Linked DNA regions of Homo sapiens: regions 2 and 3 are each linked to region 1. Evidence: promoter capture Hi-C in human tissues and cell types (Jung and others, 2019). All regions are on one chromosome and are shown on one strand. The core of a region is centred on a gene start or on the middle of the fragment in contact, and the rest is flanking DNA. Distances in the headings are between cores, read along the strand shown.

Region 1 (3,863 bases), core at 546-3,045:
GAATGGAGACAGATAATAAGCAAATATACTGTATAGCCATTTAAGTGATGACAAGTGTAATGGAAAAAATAATAGAGCAGCTCTGGAAAGCTGGAGTTGGAGAATGGTCATTGCAAATTTAAAAATGAGCAGTCAAGGTAGGCTTCAGAGAGAGACGACATTTGAGCAAAAACTTGAAGGAGATAAGGGAGGAACCAGGTAAACATCTGGTAGAAAGCCTTCCAAGTGGAGGGGACAGGCTTTGCAGAACTCCTGAAGTTGATGTGTGTCTGGTGTGTTCAGAAATAGAGCCAGTGTGGCTGAAGGTAGTAGGGGGAGCAGGAAATGAGGTGTGAGATTTAGGGGAGCAGGCAGATGACGTAGGGCTTTGAGGTCATTAAACTTTGAGAGAAATGGGAGCTGGTTAGAGGCTTCCCAGCAGAGGCTTTTAATTGCATCACCGCCTAATGCATCTTGATGGATATCATGAATATAATTATCTCAAGGGATATTCAGTATTTGTGTTTCTTTTGATGTGAAACAGTGTAATACTTTGTACAGTATATATTCATTCATGTTACAGTAGGCTCTGCTTATAACTGTCCACAAAGAGGTATTTGTTGAATGAATGAATGAATGAACAAATGGGGTTGACCTTTTCGCTCCCTCCATGCGGGTTCTCAACCTATTATTTCAACTTTATTGCCCCTACACCCTTTCTCAACTTGGGTTCTATTCACCCGTCTTGTTGAGTACTAATTAGGAAAAAAAAAAAGGCAGGCTAGTGGGAGCAGGGAAAAACAAAGAGATAAGGCAAATTAGCTATACGTCTGTCTTTCTTCATGGTCCAAAACATATAAACAAAAGGAAGAAACAAATAAGCCATAGGTCTACTTTTCTTTATGGCCCAGGACATATGGCCCTTCTACCCAGATAACGTACTTAACTCACAAACTTCCTGCTTACCTTCAAATGCCTCAATTTCTGAAACACTTCAGCTGACAAAAAAAAAAAAAAAAAAAGAAAGAAAGAAAAAAAAAAAGCAAGTTAACTCCCTGCTACCTGGTGTTATCAATCACTCCAAGTTCCAGTCTATAAAATTCTCAACAAGCCTTTGTTTCCTAGCAATGAGCTCCTCCTCTGCTGAGTCGGCCCGCTGCTCCCTGGCAACGAACTTTCATACTTTCTTTAATCTGTCTTTCTTTATCTACCACTGTCTTGGTAAATTCTTTTACTCCCACACTGAGAAAGTCGTCACTCACTGGCGACACGTTGAAAGAGTTCTTTCAACTCTGTATTTCTGCCTCTGTCTCTGCTCATTCCATTTCCCGCTACTTGAAATGCTTCTCCAGTAGATTAAAATTCTGCCTATTGTTAAAGACGCAGGGACAAGCTCCACGTCCTCCAGGAAATCCCTGCAGACTCTGGCCTTCGTTGCCTTTTCTGAGCTCCTGTAGCATCCTTCCTCTGCTACCTTTCATTGGATAACTTTAGTTGTTTATTTTAAAACCACTGTTTGAACTCTCTCTACGTGTTAGGCAAAGAATATACAAATGAACATTAGCATTTCAGTGGGGTACCTTTACCATTTCTGTTTTATGGAAACTGAGTTATAAGAGAGGCTCAATGACTTGGCCGATCTCATGTAGATTAATGAACAAGGAGTGTATCAGGACCGGGACACAAGTCGTTCCCAAGACAAGCAATAGTCCCTGTCCTTCCTACTCATAAAAGGGTTAACCTAGCATTTCCTTGCCGTGAAACAAAAGCGGCCGCGGATAGAGAAGCTTGTCCTGTGAGGGATTCCGTAGAGACACTCCTCCGCTGCCTGAGTCCTCGGCGAACATGGCGGCCCCCGAGTCAGGGCCGGCTTTGAGTCCAGGCACTGCAGAGGGTGAGGAGGAGACGATTCTCTATGACTTGTTGGTCAACACCGAGTGGCCACCGGAGACTGAAGTACAGGTGAACCAGGCCCATCTACAGCAGCAGCCAGCTTGGCGCGGGCGCTTCGTGGGTAGAGCCACGTAGCAGGAGCCACGTAGGGGAGTGGAGACGGGTGGGTGGGGGACTAGGGCCGGTTGGCTTGTGCGGTCGCCTTGGCAACGGCACCTTGGGCTAGCGGGGGTCTAGGGCGGGGTGGGGTGGTGGTCCCTGAGATTCTTCCTGGGCTCAGAATTCGGTTGTTGGGGGCTGGAACTTCGTGCTCTGGGGAGCGTACGATCCCACTTTGGTTCTCAGTTTCGCTCTCTGTATTGGGAGGAGAGGGGATTGTTAGTGTCGCTCTCTGTATTAGGAGGGGAAGGCACAGCGCTGGACTCGAGGGTCCTTTCTCCTATCTGGACCCTCAGTGGTCCCTTCTCGCGGTCTGGCTAGGGCTAGTCTGGGCCGACGCTCAACTGCGATGGGAGAATTTTCCAGGACCTTACAGTCTGCAGCATCTGCCAGGCTGGTGCAGAGCGCAGAATCTGAGCCTTTACCCATACTGGGGGCTGGATCGCGCCAGGTCTTGTGTGTTTCAATAAAAGAGCATTTAATAAGGGTGTGCGTGTCCGTTCGTCTGTCTCGGTGTCACAGGTGCTGTGCTAGGTGCTAAGGATACAGAGATGAATATGTTTTCGTGGAGCTTCTCGTCTAGAGGGGAGACAGTCCCGTAAACGTTTTTCATAACCTAGCGTTTTATGCGCTATAGTTAGCGATGTGAGCAAAATGCCACGGAAGTGCAGAGTAAAGAGCTGCTGACTGGGATTGGGATCTCCGCTACAGAAGGGTTATAGAGGTTGATAATTTATGGACTGGATCTTGGGATTATCAGTTGTTTGGTAGTGAAGGCCTCCCGGGTCTGTGATGAAGAGTAGGAACCATGGATCCATGTTTATTTTATTTTATTTTTTATTATTATTATTTTTTGGATCCATGTTTATTTAACAGATATTTATTGAGTGCTTAACACGTGCCAGTTACTGTTTTAGACCCAGAGGAAGCAGCCAGATCGAAAAGAACCTTTATTAAAGATTATGTAGTCCAGCCCATGTGAGTTATCTTACATTTTTTCTGAGTGTTTCTTTGCTGGAGAAACGACTCATTTTTCAGCCCAAAGTTTGTATTTTTTTCCTCTGTAGCCTCCTTCCCACTGCAGTTTGTGCTTATCATGAATAATTTATTTTGTAGACGGGTAGAGATCTGCATATATTACTGTTTAATTTCAAGTACTTAGTTTGTCTTAATGTGAATATTTTTTGGGTTATGCAGCTAGGAAGCTGTTGCTGAGGCAGCTGGTTAGATAAGTTTCCACTCCTTAACACTCATTGGTTAATTGCAGTAATGTTTCAGAATGCTTACCATAAATTGATTCCAAAAAAGTAACCACAGAATTAACTTACTTTGAAACCCTTAGCACTTTGTTTTGTGTTTGTGTGTTGGGGGTGGGGGAGTTCAATTGATTTCTGCATTCTATCGATTTCTGCATTCTGTTGATTTCAGCTGTTGAATTATAAGCTCTTGGAGGGCAGACATCTGATTCATCTTTATATCTCTTCCCAGGGCCAAATTGTGTCTTGCATGAATCCAACAATCAATTCATGTTTATTGAGTGAAATAACTTTTCTGTGTTTTTTAAAAAAATCTGTCTACACTTACTGTATGTCCATTGTGCTTTTCTTGACAGCACTTTAGTGCATCTTATGCAGTGCCTAGCGTCATGAACCTACCCACGGTGTGTTCAGTCTATACTTATGGAATGGAATTATTTAATATAGCAATTACGTATCTGTGTATGTTTTGTTAGTAGCATTGTCTGTATAGATACACAACAGATAGTCAATGAATTGGCCTTGGAGATATGACCACTTTTCCTGTGAGCAAAACTTACAGCCTCAATAGAGTAT
Region 2 (3,863 bases), core at 446-2,945, 620 kb after region 1:
GTTTCCAGGGATGGGGATGGTCGCCCTCCCTCTTCACTTTGTCTTTGCCTGTCACAGGGACATTTTTCCCTTCAGGCACTCATGATGCTTCTCCTGCATTACGGCAGAGGCAAGTGTCCTGCCAGGACACCCAAGATAGTGGGGAAAGTGAGATTCAGGTGGGCAATCACCATTTCCGGTATAGAAACTGTGAATTGGGTAAAAATTTTCTGCTCACTTGGTGCTGGGCAGAATGGGGGGAGGGACATTGTGAATGTGGAAGCCTGATTCTCTTACCATCTGTTCAGAGTTTTTTTTTTTTCTTTCACTTTTCACTTTCTGTGTCCCTGAGGACTGTCTCGTCTTCATATTTGAGTTTTGAAAGATTGCTGGTGATAATCTTGTGCCATATGTTCATTTTTTGATTTTCTGTAAGGGCTAGTGATGTCAGCTTGCTTGTATGCCACCATTTTGGAACCAGAAATCTCACTGTTCTTTTAATACCTTCATGGAAAGTGAACTCATATCACTGAAAGTCACCAAGGTTCAAGTCACAGCTGTATCAATGATGGGCTGTGTGATCCTGTGTATGCTTCTTACCAGTTGTGTCAAGGACGTGTTGGAGAAGAGTACCGACCTTGTAGGGTTGGGGTGAAAAATAAATGAGATACTTGAAGTGAAGCACTTTACACTGTGCAGGATTCATAGCAGGGATTAGCAGTTTTTTGTTTTTTTGTTTTTTTGTTTTTTGTTTTGAGACGGAGTCTCACTCTGTCGCCCAGGCTGGAGGGCAGTGGTGCGATCGATCTCGGCTCACTGCAAGCTCCGCCTCCCGGGTTCACGCCATTCTCCTGCCTCAGCCTCCCGCGTAGCTGGGACTACAGGCGCCCGCCACCATGCCCGGCTAATTTTTTGTATTTTTTAGTAGAGACGGGGTTTCACTGCGTTAGCCAGGATGGTCTCGATCTCCTGACCTCGTGATCCGCCCGCCTCGGCCTCCCAAAGTGCTGGGATTACAGGCGTGAGCCACCGCACCTGGCAGGGATTAGTAGTTTTTTTTATTTGGTTGAACGAATGGAGCAATCATCCTCATAGCTTCCTGGAGAAGCAGGGGGAACTTTGTGGACCAATGTGGTTCCTTCTTTGGGACTTGGTGAGATGGTGCCTACTCCTTGTTTGCTGTGCTTGCAAAAAAGGAATCATGGGGCTTTCTCAAATCCTATTGGAAAATAATTTACTTTGAGGTTATAGTCATGAAGTTTAAAAAATTAATAAAAATAGAAGCGATTCTATCAGAGACATAATAAAAGAAACAAAGTTCCTAAGAATCTGAACACCTAGGTTTCAATTCTGACTCCAACATTTGTGAGCTCAGGCAAATCACTACTTATATCTGAGACTCAGTTTTCACAGATGTAAAACAAGGGTAAGGGTTATTAATTAATAATAAAGTGGTCTTGAATATTTATGTACAAAGAACTGTGCTAATTACTGGAAGGTGATGCATTAATAATGTAAATTACCCTGAATGTTTTCTTCCAAATATTATATTCTGTGATTGTATGAATTTTCTAGGTTGACACTGCAATGCAATTAGGTAGCTTTTAGGAATTACAGTCAGAAGGCAATTTTACAGCAGATACGCTTTTTTATTTGTCAGTAAAGAAGAATGTTTCCAGCCTCTGGGTTAAAGTTAGGCTGTAACATGAAAATATACATGAAATTGGTAAGATAAAATTATTAGTGGCTCTTTTAGTTCTGCTCATGCATGGAATTAAGGGGATAAAGTGGTTCTTTGATGCAGATGTAGTAAAGCTTGCTACAAGTGTATCCGGTGGCCTTTCATTCTGAAGGTTTTGGTGAGTCATTGAGAGTCCCTGATTAGGAACATGACTAGAAGCTTTGCATTAGAACGGCTCATTTGATAATTTATGCATGTGCTTCCAAATTTGGAGGGCAAAAGCCTGGGGAATATGCTAATAGCCTCATGCTGAGAATGAGGAAAGAGAGAACATGCTGTTCATTAGCCATAATAAAACCATAAGGAGACCCACCTTTGCGTTCCCTTTGCTGAGGGAGGTATATTCAGAGAAGAAGGCAGATCTGCAGAGAGGTCCCTGGCTCTCCTTTTGCAATAGTAGAAACCAGGTCTTGCCTTTTATTATGGGGCTTGGAGTCCAAAGAAAAGGACTACACTTCTAACAATACTTTAAGCATAGGTGAAAGTCATTTTTCTCTACAGATTGAGACTCAGCTGTGATGAGTTGAGCCTCTACTATGTGCTTGGGCCAGGCCTGACTAGACTGTGTAATATCTTCCTTTCTGTGGTCCTTGGCTTCTCCTTGTGTCAATAGGGGGTTTAGGCTTTAGCTGTGACACTCCACCTTTCCCCACAGGGAGTGGGAGTTAGAGTCTGTATTAGTCCATTCTCTCATTTCTATAAAGGAATACCTGCAATTGGGTAATTTATAATGAAAAGAAGTTGAATTGGCTCATGGTTCCACAGGCTGTACAGGAAGTATGATGTTGACATCTGCTTAGCTTCTGAGGAAGCCTCAGGAAACTTACAATCACAGTGGAAGGGGAAGGGGGAAAAGACATGTCACATGGCTGGAGCAGGAAGAAAAGAGTGAGGGGTGAGGTGCTACATAATTTTTAAACAGATCTCATGAGAACTCACTATCATGAGGACAGTACCAAGAGGGGTGGCACTAAACTACTCATGAGAAATCCACTCCCATGATCCAATCACTTTCCACCAGGCCCTACCTCTAACATTGGGAATTACTATTTGACACGAGATTTGGTGGGGACACAGACCCAAACCATATCAGGGTGCCTTCTAGATAACTGGCAGCTCTTGAATACCAATACAAAATTATCCTGAACGAGGTAGAATAGTTATTTTGGCTTTAGCTTCAACTCTCTGATAAACTTTTGGAAAATCACCCTTCTTTCTAGACCTCAGTTTCTATATTGTAAAATAAGGGGTTTGGAAGAGAATTTCTAGAACCATCGTGTCTCAATTTGGTACTCAACGGTTTGCAGTTGGGAATACCTGAGAAGCTGCTGGATATGTTCCCAACTAGTCTGAGAAAAAGCAAACCTACCCATTGGAGAAAAGAAGCAATGAACATTGTAACTCATCCTCCAACCAGTAGAGAGCCTCCCCCTCTTTCTCTGTGGGTATTATGTTTGCATATTGAAGTCAGTCAAGAAAGCAGAGACCAGAATAATCAAGGATGTGGAAGGAAATGAAGATGCTAAATCCGCAGTCTGATAACAATCTGTGGCTGAAAATAGGAGACCAATTCCTAAGACAAAATCAGCAGAAAATCTCAACAATCAGATAATTTGTCGCTATGACAATTGGGTTTAACAATCTCCTAATTGAGTGTAGTCCTCTGTGGGAGCGGGTGACACACAGCAGCAGCCTGAACAGCAGTCACCCTGTTTTCAGTGCTCCGGGAAGTATTTTGAGCCCGTCAGCAGACCATCCATCTGCTCTGCCTTCCTCCTTCCTGAAAAGTGCATCTGCAAGAAAGTCCAGGGCTGGAGGCCAGAACGGATGCGTTTGAAGCTTCCAGGATTCCTTTCCACTTAGATGAGGTCAGCAATTTCTGAAAAGAGCTCCCTGTTCTTTCTTGGAGTAGGAGCAAATGCTTTTTGAAGCTTTCAGAGGCCCACATGTAGAGGCTCTGTCCAAATGAGCTACACATACACCCTCCCAGCATTGCTCTGGGTGGAAAAGAGGCTTGTCTTTCTCCAAAAGCCTACAGAGATAGTCATATAAACATAGATCATCTGGAATTTCCACAGATGCCTGGACTGTTATGGAAAGAGTGTAGTCACCTACTAAGTGGGTGGTTATGAGCCTTCCCTTA
Region 3 (3,863 bases), core at 775-3,274, 580 kb after region 1:
TAATAAAAAAGAAGGAAATCTAATGTCTTGTAGAACTCACCAAGAGAAATCAGCAATACTGTTTTATGAATATGACTATTATTGAAATTGGTGCTTTGATAATTTCAGGCACTTATAAGACAATCAGCAACTGATGTTTGTCAAGTACATTTATTCTAAATAATCAGAATATTCCTTCTTGGTAACATATTGTTTAATTTAAAGTACATGTGCTCTATTAAAAGATATAGCATTTCATGAGCCAGATTATTATCATTTTTAAAATCTAAAGGCTAGGATTAAAAAAGTAACTGATGACCTGAAATCATGTCATATCTATTTTAGATCTATATTTATCTAATAATTAGGACATCAATTCCACTAGGAATCAAGGAGATAAACTAATGGACTTTGTCTTTTCAGTGTTTATTTCAGGTATTTCAGAATTTATAATTAAAAAAATAAAAATTTCTCACCTACTGCCTATTACATTTTTTCCTATGGAATTTGAGAACTCCTGTATTGATCAAATGATGGCATTTCTAGCATACTTTTTTTGTGGGTAACTTTGAAGAGTCTTACTTTATTAAGCAAACTTCATATTTGATTTTCCAAGTATTAAAATAGCCACCTTTCTTACAGATTGCTTTAGGGGAAGAATTCTTGATTGTCTAAACACTGAAGTTGTCTCATTGGAAAGTTCAAGTAAATAAACTTCAAGTGGTAAGCTATGGTCTATTTTCTGCAAATGAAGGAGGTTATTATCAATTTCTTTAAGTGTGCATGAAAATTGGTACTGTGAAATATAAGTAGGTCTTTATATGAAATAATTCAGTTAGGTTTCTTTAAAAAATCAGGAAATGATGGAGAATTGAAGAGACTAATGAAATGTAATATATATGAAAACCTCCTTTTCTCTCCATTGGTTGAAGGTGTACCGTAAGCTGGAGTTTATATTCTTAGGGGAGAAGGGTTCAGTGTATTAGATTAATTGTTTAACAACCTTATACTCGGTAGTGTTAAGTGTATTCTTTATCTGAACTGTTGTGGATTTAATGGGCTACTCTATATGTTGGCAGGAGATATTAGTATGGGAATTATAATGGAACATTTCAATCCATATCTTTTTAGTTAGTTGAAAACAGGTTTTTTTTTTTCCCCAATTATGCTGCCCCAAGATATACCTGTAAGGGATTTAAACACCTGAAAATGAGCAATTTAATTTTGCTCTGGGATATTTGTAAGATAATTCCTAGCTAAAACACACACTCAAAATAGTACCTTGTTAATAAAATGATTAACATCCACAATTTACATGTGAATTCTAACCAAATGCATTGCGCTTAAAAGGAGCTTTAATTATTTCAACTACTCATGTGGCTCTGGCCATAGTTTTACTGATCTCTACCTAGAGAATGCCATGGAAGATTGTGTGGTTAATGTCAGAAACTGGTTTTAGATCATCAGTACACTTGAGATTCCTAAGTGCACCCACTATATGACATGTAAACACCCTAATTTTCACATACCTTTTCAGAATTAATAATGCAATTTTAACTGCATTTGATTTTTTTATATTAAAGCAGTCTCAAAATCAAGTATAAAGGATTCAGAAATTCAAAGTGGAAGCCATGTATGTAATATTTTTAAATTCAGTGAATATCTTTATTAGGTACCCCACTAGCTTCTAGACATTTAAACCAACAATTACAATTTTAACTCCTCTAATACAAATGTATGGAAAGAGCCCCTGTCCTCAATAGATTTCTGCATTGAAACAGCAGTTATTGCTTCATAGTCTGAGATCTTGGGGACTCAGAGGAAACGATTTATATTTTTTATACACTCTTGTCCAACATCTTGCCTTTTCTCAGCTATTTAGTTGTCTGACTTTATCTTATTCCACTTTACTGTCACTAGAAGCTTTACTTCCTATCGTCTCTGCTGTTCGCAGCTGCGGGATATGTTTCCAGTTCTCTAGTTTTCTCTTGCTACCTTATGTTTTTCAGGCTAGCCCAAGTATGTTTAAAATTTTTGACTTGTTCCTGAAGTTGTTCTAATTTTTCCTTTAACCTGGGCAGGACTGACAGTGTTTCCTGGATGACAGTGTTTTCTCTTTCCTTTTTTCTTTAATCCCTCTTCTCATTATAGGACCAAAATCTGTTTTTAAAATCGGATCTATTTCTTCTGTTGCTGGCGTTCCCTGTGTAAACAATAGTGTTCTGCAAATATACCAATTCCGAAGCCTTCCCAGCCCGTCACTGTACATTTACCTCTGCTCTGACAGCTGCCCTTTGAACAATAGTATTCCAGACATGGGTTTTTATATTTCTCACTTATGCCTTTATTTATGATAATTTCACGAAGTTTTCATGAACTTGGGCCGCCATCCTGAGTTCCAAAAGATGACACCTTCCTAATTGCACAGGGACTTGCTCATTTGCTCTTCTGCTGCCTGCCTGCTCGTAGGGTCTAACACCTCACCCACCACCACTCTGAGGCATCTCACAGGCTGGGGCTTTCAGGTCCCCACTCAGCCTACACATCCAGCCACTTGGAAGTAGGTAGGAAAAGACCTGCCTACGTTCATGCATATGACCTTTCACATGATGTTCATGACTAATCAGCATTCTGGATGGAAAATGACCAACTCGAATTAACTCTTCTGTGATCACATCAACTCTTCTGGGGGTGGAGAAAGGGGTGGGATGGGGAATATGGAGGGAAGTATAGGGAGAGGGACAGAATTAGTGCTGGGCTAGAAATAGAACTGGAGTCTGACATATAAGCAGTTGTATTTACTGTATCTAGAGATGCATTCTATACCTCTAAAGTAGTTCACTTAGAGGGACTTTCAAATTCCGCTTCAGCTCACTTATTTCCCAACTAAGTCAGTGCTCACACACGCCCTTTAATGTATTCATTTGTTTTACGCTGAAAACACACAACCTTTAATGTATTCATTTGTTTTACACTGACTTGGAAATTGCCCTTGTTTCACCTTCTAATGATCTAGTCTACTAGCCGAAGTGCAAAAGTCTCACCTTGAAGGCATGGGAGTCATAGAGAATTGCCAAGGTCTCAGTGCCCATAAGGAGGTAGTGAACAGAGCTGAATCTAGGAAGGGTAGGGGGCAGAGACTAAAGTCAGGGCGTGGAGTTAAAGGATGAAACTAGAGAAAAGATGAGGAGTGAAGGAAAACCAGGTACATCGTGGGGCTTGGGCAGAGGGCGCTGAATGGCTGACTATGGTGTCAGCCATTTTCTTACCCTTGTCAAATAATCCTAATGCTTTTAAGTTTTCTTCATTGGTTATATATTGTTTTGTTGATAAAATGTTCTGAAATTGCATTTTTTAATGGGATTCTGCCTCATTAAAGAACCAGGGTTGGCACGCCCCCTCGGAAGCCCCACATACGTGGGCAAATATTTATGTTCAATGAATCGCGGATTCTGACAGCAGAAGTCTTGTTGTCCATGACTCCTGTGTTGCCAGGAGCACTGGAAACTCATCCTAAACCACAGAATCAAGTTCTGCTTTTAAAACTCCCACGAAGGGGTTTTTAATGCCTCCTTTCATAATCCATTTGTATGTTTAATGTTCCTTCACAAGACCAAAGTCTTCCTTTATCTCAAACCTGGAGTACTTTCTTCTATCCCTTTCCCTGAAGATGGACAGCAAACACCTTCTCTATGTAGATAATTTGGCAGTTATTAATTCTGTCCCTCAAACTTTTCTTACCCTTGCCAAGTAATCCTATTGCTTTAACTTTTCTTCATTGATTGTATTTTTTGTTGATAAAATGTTCTGAAATTTGGGTAGTGGGTTGGGGACTTATATTTGGGCCCTTATTACATGCCTGGAGTTGTTTTAGTTATTGCAAA

Evidence for each region. Contacts are between HindIII fragments. The study calls those that stand out against the background at their distance.
Region 2: a contact is called between a fragment that was not itself captured here and the fragment with the promoter of NBAS in region 1, in 2 of the 25 tissues and cell types used here (lymphoblastoid cells and thymus).
Region 3: a contact is called between a fragment that was not itself captured here and the fragment with the promoter of NBAS in region 1, in 2 of the 25 tissues and cell types used here (H1 embryonic stem cells and hippocampus).

The regions. Positions count from the first base shown.
Region 1 is chr2:15,559,266-15,563,128 of GRCh38, reverse strand. NBAS (NBAS subunit of NRZ tethering complex) reads left to right here and starts at 1,795. Exons shown (of 52, transcript NM_015909.4): 1 at 1,795-1,941. The coding sequence starts at 1,825. LOC105373440 (a long non-coding RNA gene) reads right to left here and starts at 981. Exons shown (of 4, transcript XR_001739297.2): 1 at 946-981. RefSeq lists an enhancer at 1,596-2,005. The HindIII fragment of the contact is 7,047 bases long and covers 1-3,863 here.
Region 2 is chr2:14,941,175-14,945,037 of GRCh38, reverse strand. It overlaps a transcript of NBAS not described here. Among named protein-coding and RNA genes, the nearest start is that of LRATD1, 310 kb to the right of the region's middle. The HindIII fragment of the contact is 3,821 bases long and covers 1-3,605 here.
Region 3 is chr2:14,983,503-14,987,365 of GRCh38, reverse strand. It overlaps a transcript of NBAS not described here. Among named protein-coding and RNA genes, the nearest start is that of LRATD1, 350 kb to the right of the region's middle. The HindIII fragment of the contact is 6,561 bases long and covers 1-3,863 here.